Regions from separate parts of the Homo sapiens genome. Here region 1 is linked to region 2. Evidence: promoter capture Hi-C in human tissues and cell types (Jung and others, 2019). All regions are on one chromosome and are shown on one strand. Each heading gives the region's core, a stretch centred on a gene start or on the middle of the fragment in contact. The rest is flanking DNA. Distances are from core to core; before and after follow the strand shown. Region 1 overlaps ADAMTS7 (ADAM metallopeptidase with thrombospondin type 1 motif 7). Region 2 holds the start of HYKK (hydroxylysine kinase).

Region 1 (3,075 bases), core at 56-2,555, 280 kb after region 2:
TCTTGGCTCACTGCAACCTCCGCCTCCTGGGTTCAAGTGATTCTCCTGCCTCAGCTTCCCAAGTAGCTGGGATTACAGGCACACGCCACCACACCTGGCTAATTTTTGTATTTTCAGTAGGGAAGGGGTTTCACCATGTTGGCCAGGCTTGTCTCGAACTCCTGACCTCAAGTGATCCACCTGCCTCAGCCTCCCAAAGTGCTGGGATTACAGGCATAAGCCACCACAAGCAAGGTCCGGACAGTAAGCAAGGTCTGATGGGACAAAAGAGCCTGTATCTGAGCAGAGGAGACACAGGCAATGTCTGTGTCCACCATTCCTTGCTGCCCCATTTGCATCTCACATTTACTTTGGTCCATGAGCTCAGAACCTATAATGTGTAGGAGTTCGGTGAGACTCAAAGCAATTAGATGTTAAACATGTTATGTCAACAACTGAGTAAGGGACAGGAGAGCACTGACAGGCCCAGAGGCTGCATTTTCCATTTGAACCAGACTTACTTCAAATGCAGAAAGAAGACAATGACCAAGGTGCCCCATCATCCTTTCTTACCCATGTTAACACCCCTGTATTAGCCAATCGCTATGCAGAAAATGAAGACACGGGAGGAAAGAGAACCCCACAGTTCCTTCTCCTTTCAGTCTTTCCTTCCTCATTGGTAAGAAAAGGTAGACAGCCTGGGTAGAATGTGCACATACCAAGGAGTGAGATGAAACCAGTTGAGATAATTTTATTCTGTTTCATCCTCTGGTAAATATGAGCTACAAAAGACGAATTGTATAATTTCAGTGACTCTGCATACAAGTTAATACAGCTCACCTTTGAACAACATGGATTTGAACTGCACAGGTCCACTTACATGTGGATTTTTTTTCACCTCTGCCACCCCTGAGATCATCCCCTGCCTTTCTCCTCCCTCCTCAGCCTACTCAACATGAAGAGGATGAGGATCCTCTTCCACTTAATGAATATCCACTTCCACTTAATGAGCAGTGAACATATTTTCTCTTCCTTATGATTTCAATAACATTTGCTTTTCTCTAGCTTACTTTATTGTAAGAATACAGTATATATTATATACAACATACAAAATATGTGTTAACTGTTTATGTTATCAGTAAGGCTTCCAGTCAACAGTAGGCTATTAGCAGTTTTGGGCGAGTCGAAAGTTATACATGGATTTTCAATTGCACAGGAGTCAGCACCCCTGACCCCCGAGTTCTTCTGGGGTCAGCTATACTCATATTTGCATTTAAACCTGGCACTGCACAAAATAAAGATGAATGGTACAATTTATGCCAATAATTTAAATTTAAAACTTTTTCTTACTTAGAACATTAAATAGCAAATTTGAAAAAAAAAAAACAAAAAAACACCAGAACAGGCCGGGCATGGTGCACCGCTCATGCCTGTAATTCCAGCACTCTGGGAGGCAAAGGTGGGCGGATCACCTGAGGTCACGAGTTCAAGACCAGTCTGGCCAACATGGCAAAAGCTCGTCTCTACTAAAAATACAAAAAGTAGCCAGCCGTTGTGGCACACGCCTGTAGTCCCAGCTACTCAGGAGGCTGAGGCAGGAGAATCGCTTGAACCCGGGAGGCGGAGGTTGCAGTGAGTCAAGATCGTGCCATTGCATTCCAGCCTGGGCAACACAGCGAGACTCTGTCTCAAAAAACAAACAAACAACAACAACAAAAACACCAGAACAAATGAAGAGAACATGAAAAAAAAGGAGAAAGCTTCGTATTTCAGTTCCCTTAATGGCCCCTTCTTCCTGTCTCTGACCGGACCTTGTGGCTGTCCCTCACCTCCTCCAGCTTCATTTCCTACGCAGCCTTTGCTCCCATAGCCTTGCTCAGGGTTCCGCCGTTCCCTGAAAGCTCTCCCGCTCCTTTACCGCTACAGGCCTTTCTCAGGCTTCCTCTACCAAGAACACCATTCTTCTCCCTTCTGCACATGTGTGAATTCTTGCTCCTCCTCCAAGTTCAAGCCTCCTTCCAGGAGGACATTTGGGATGCCGGCACCACATCTTTGCCAGGTGCCCCTCTGTTTCCCTCTACCCTGGCCCTGCAGTGTGACTGTCTGCATCACCCCCATTAGACCTTGACCTCATGTATCAAGATCTTGCCCCTCTGCTTCCCTCTACCCCGGCCCTGCAGTATGACTGTCTGCATCTCTCCCAGTAGACCTTGACCTCATGGATCAAGGTATAGGGGCCCAGGGCTGGGGGACTTACTCAAGGAACCTGGTGATATACTGGCGGCTGCAGCGGGACCAGGTGAGGGGAGCGGCGTCGTACAGGAGCTGTGGAGACATGATGAAAGGTCGTTTCCCAACGGGCTCACAGTCATTGCCGCTTCCGTCATGCTGAATGCCAAAACTGTGTGAGAGCACAGGCCCCAGGGGCGGGTGAGCCGGCGGGAGGCTGCCAGCCTGCCCTCCCCTGGACACCCACAAGGTGCGCAGTCCTAGTTCCCAGGGCTGGTTCTGCCACCCAATGGCTGCACCCAATGGCTGCAGAAAGTCACATTCCCCTCTCTGAGCCTCAGTTTCCTGAATGTAAAATGAGGGTATGACAGCTAGTATCCCAAGGGCTCCTGTTCCAGCCTGAAATGAGGGCCAGGGACCCAGAGCAGCCCTGCCCCTGCCTGGGGGCCAGCCAGCAATGGCAAATCAGGTGGCACAGATGTGGGCCCGTGATGGCCCCTGCAAGCTCACTGGCCTCAAGAACAGTCTGACAGCGGTTCCCACTCACAGGTCCTTGTCCCAAGGCTGTGCACTTGAGTTAAGGGATCTGAGCTGCTGTATCACAGAAAGGTCTCCAGAGACCATCCTTGGGAAGGATACAAGAAAAATTATTTCCTGAGCATCTACTATGTGCCAGGGGCCATGCTAAGCACTTTCAGAAACACAATCTCACTCAGTTCTCATTATTACCCTCAGGAAGGCTCAGAGAGTCTAAGGAACTAGCTAGGGTAACACAGCCAGGAAATTGCAGTACTGTGGCAGGCTGTTCTTTCTGCAGCCATAAGCAGCTTCAAGGTCCTGCAGGCACGGCCATCGCCTACGAAACCC
Region 2 (2,997 bases), core at 186-2,685:
GAACCATATCTAAAGCAGGAGAAGAAGCTTCCCTCAGTAGGTGGTTGATAGGGGTCTGGGAATCATCCAAGTTAATCAGGGTGACTATAGATAATCCGAGTGTGTTATATCCTGACAGAAAACAAAGGGTGGATGTGCATTGGCAAAAACAAAATAAGAAACCAATTTGCAGGCATGAGTGGACCAGTACCCAGGACTCTCTTCCAGTAGCCTACAGTAGATAGAGGGCTCTGACTTATCGGAGAAGTCCTGCTTGGCTGGAGAAGGGCATCAAGCTGTTTATCAGCGCCTCATGCCCTTAACAGTTAAGACCATCCAACTAACCTGGCTGTTACTCCATGAATCTCGTGCAGCTTTCTGAAAATCATGGGGTCTCTGCGGACTTTCCTGCAGAAAGAGAGCCCACTGATTCCACTACCTAGATAAAGGCGTGGTGGTGGGCCCCTGTAATCCCAACTACTCGGTGTAAGAATTAAAGAAAGAGGAAAGAAACACGAAAAGTGGCTTGGTGGTCATAAGAGGTTTATTTTAGAGAAAACCTGAGAGGGGCGTCTGGCCAAGTTAGGTCAGAGGCACACTCTCTTACAGACTAAGTAAGTTTTTAAGGATTCGGAGTGGGAGAGTTTATCAGAGGCTTGGACTGCTTCTGTGTCTCTTTGTTGTGCTTATCTCGGAGGGAGAGTTGTGTGTCTGTTCCCATACATCTTTCTGCAGCTGCAGACATACCCCCTGAGTCTAATTTTTGTATTTTTAGTAGAGAGGGGTTTCACCATGTTGGCCAGGCTGGTCTCGAACTCCTGACCTCAGGTGATCCTCCCGCCTCGGTCTCCCAAATTTCTGGGATTACAGGCGTGAGCCATCTGCGCCCTGCCTAAACTGTTCGGGTTCTAACATTCCAGCATCCTCCTGCGGAACGCAGCCAGGCCTTACTCAGGCCTTCCAATCAGGACCCTTACAGTTCCTGGGGCTGGGATTGCGAGTCTCTCTGGGGCCACGCTTTCTAAGCGTATCACTTCCAGGATACGTGCCTCCAACAGAAGGAATGAAGGCTAGGAAACAAAAACGTGGATGCGGGTGAGGAGCTGTCAGTGTTACCGCCACGACAACGTGGACCCTGCGAAACTCGGAGGTGCCACTCAAGAGCCGAAAGCCTGCCCACTCGGGGTGGGGCGGCAACCCGGAGAGCCAATCAGGAATAAGGAGTCCGGTTCATGAAAAGGTAGCCGGATTCTGACTGGGATACTCACTGTGAGAAGGCTGGGCGGAGTTGCAGAAAGTCAACAGAAGCCGAATCTCTGAATTTCTGTTCGCAGCCTCCTAGGCGGGGCCGGGAAAAAAATCCAGTAGTCTGCGCTGACTGGGCGGCGAGGGACCGGGAGGAGCCAATCAGAAGTCAGGACTCGCGGGGCTTGGAGGAGGGGCGCGGGCGCTGCGGCCCCTGCTCTACCTCCTAGCGCCGGTGCGCGGCCGAGGCCGCACTACCTGTCTGCGGGAAAGCGGGATCCACCCCAGGACGTCGGGTCGCTGCCGGTGAGCCAAGGAGGGGGAAGCAGAGACGAGCCCTGCGTCCCCGCTGCGGGAGTCGGGGTCGCCCCCGAGGGCAGGGAGGCTCGCTGCAAGTGTGGAGCCGGGAGTCCTATGCCTCAGGCTCCTCCAGCCCGCGCTATCCTCAGCTCGCTGCGTGCGTGATGGGCAAGTCACCCTTCTTCCCGGACCTCACCTGTAACCTAGGAGGGCTGAGCTGGGCCCCCAGAATGAAAGCGTGGCACCCGAGAAGCTGTCGAGGCCAGCCCTCCCGGGTCTGTGTGGGGTCGCTGGCCGAGGGCTGTGCCGGCGCCTGGCCGGTGTCTACTGGGAGCAGTCTCTGAGCTCCGCTGAACCTCACTTACTCATGCGCCCTCCTCCTCTCTTTTCCTGCCTCTTGGTTCAGCAGCCCCTCTGCAGCCCGCTCACCCACCACTTTTTCCCCTTCACCCACCAGGAAGACCCTTAAAAGCACCTAGTAATGCACTGTTGTCTTTGAAAAACTGCAGATGCTAGATTCCCCACCTTTCTGTTTCATGATCCCCTTGGGGTTGAACTGCCCCGTGAGTCTGTGGAATGAAGGTCACCCTTGGTTCACCATTTAATATTAAATAAGGGACTAGCCTAGGGGCTGAGAATACAGAGATTGACTGGGTATAATCCCTTGGAAGGACGCAGCAAAAGGGAATGTAGGAGAAGAAAGGTAGAGTTGGAAGACATGCTAAGGTAGAATTTACTAGACTTTGTTACACGTTGGGAGTGAGGGACAGGAAAGAATCAAGAATGACTCCTGTTTCTTGTCTGGTATACTTTGCACAAAGTACAGAGCTTAAGTTCCAGCCCCCTCCCGGCTGCAGGACAAAGGTGGTGAGATTCTGACGCAGATCTTGGAGTTGGAAATCACACTTGCTTCCTGCGGGCTTTTTCAGGAGCTAAATACTGTTGGCCGGATATATAGACCAACAGCCTATAGTACCTGAATTCCTCCTCTCCCTTTCAATGAAGTAGGAAAAAAAGTTAATAATTTTTAAAAATGTGTGAGTGGGCAACATAGCGAGACACTGTCTCTAAAAAAATAAAAATAATAAAATCAAAAAGACAGCCATGATGGCTTGCACCTGTAATCCCAGCACTTTGGGAGACCAAGGTAGGAGGATTGCTTGAGCCCAGAAGTTCGAGACCAGCCTGGGCAACATAGTGGGACCCTCTCTCTCCAAAAAAAAAAAAAAAAAAAAGGCCAGGCATGGTGGCACCTGCCTGCAGTCCCAGCTATTTGGGAAGCTCAGGTGGGAGGATCCCTTGAGCCCAGGAGTTGGAAGCTGCAGTAAGCAGTGATTGTGCCACTGTACTCCAGACTGGGTGACAGAGACCTTGTCTCAAAAACAAAAAAAAAAAAATTCCCCTCCATACAAAGGAGACATTTGGTTAAGACAGACATGTCTGATAAACATATTTTTTTCTTTGTTTTTATTT

The links. The method cuts DNA at HindIII sites, captures the fragments that hold promoters and counts their contacts. A contact is called where the count stands out against the background at its distance.
Region 1: a fragment that was not itself captured here is called in contact with the fragment with the promoter of HYKK in region 2 in 4 of the 25 tissues and cell types used here (lymphoblastoid cells, mesenchymal stem cells, mesendoderm cells and 1 more).

Annotation. Positions count from the first base shown.
Region 1 is chr15:78,785,995-78,789,069 of GRCh38, forward strand. ADAMTS7 (ADAM metallopeptidase with thrombospondin type 1 motif 7) reads right to left here. Exons shown (of 24, transcript NM_014272.5): 8 at 2,237-2,380. Among named protein-coding and RNA genes, the nearest start is that of ADAMTS7, 24 kb to the right of the region's middle. The HindIII fragment of the contact is 7,649 bases long and covers 1-3,075 here.
Region 2 is chr15:78,506,142-78,509,138 of GRCh38, forward strand. It overlaps HYKK (hydroxylysine kinase), which reads left to right and starts at 1,436. Exons shown (of 5, transcript NM_001013619.4): 1 at 1,436-1,530. The HindIII fragment of the contact is 18,918 bases long and covers 1-2,997 here.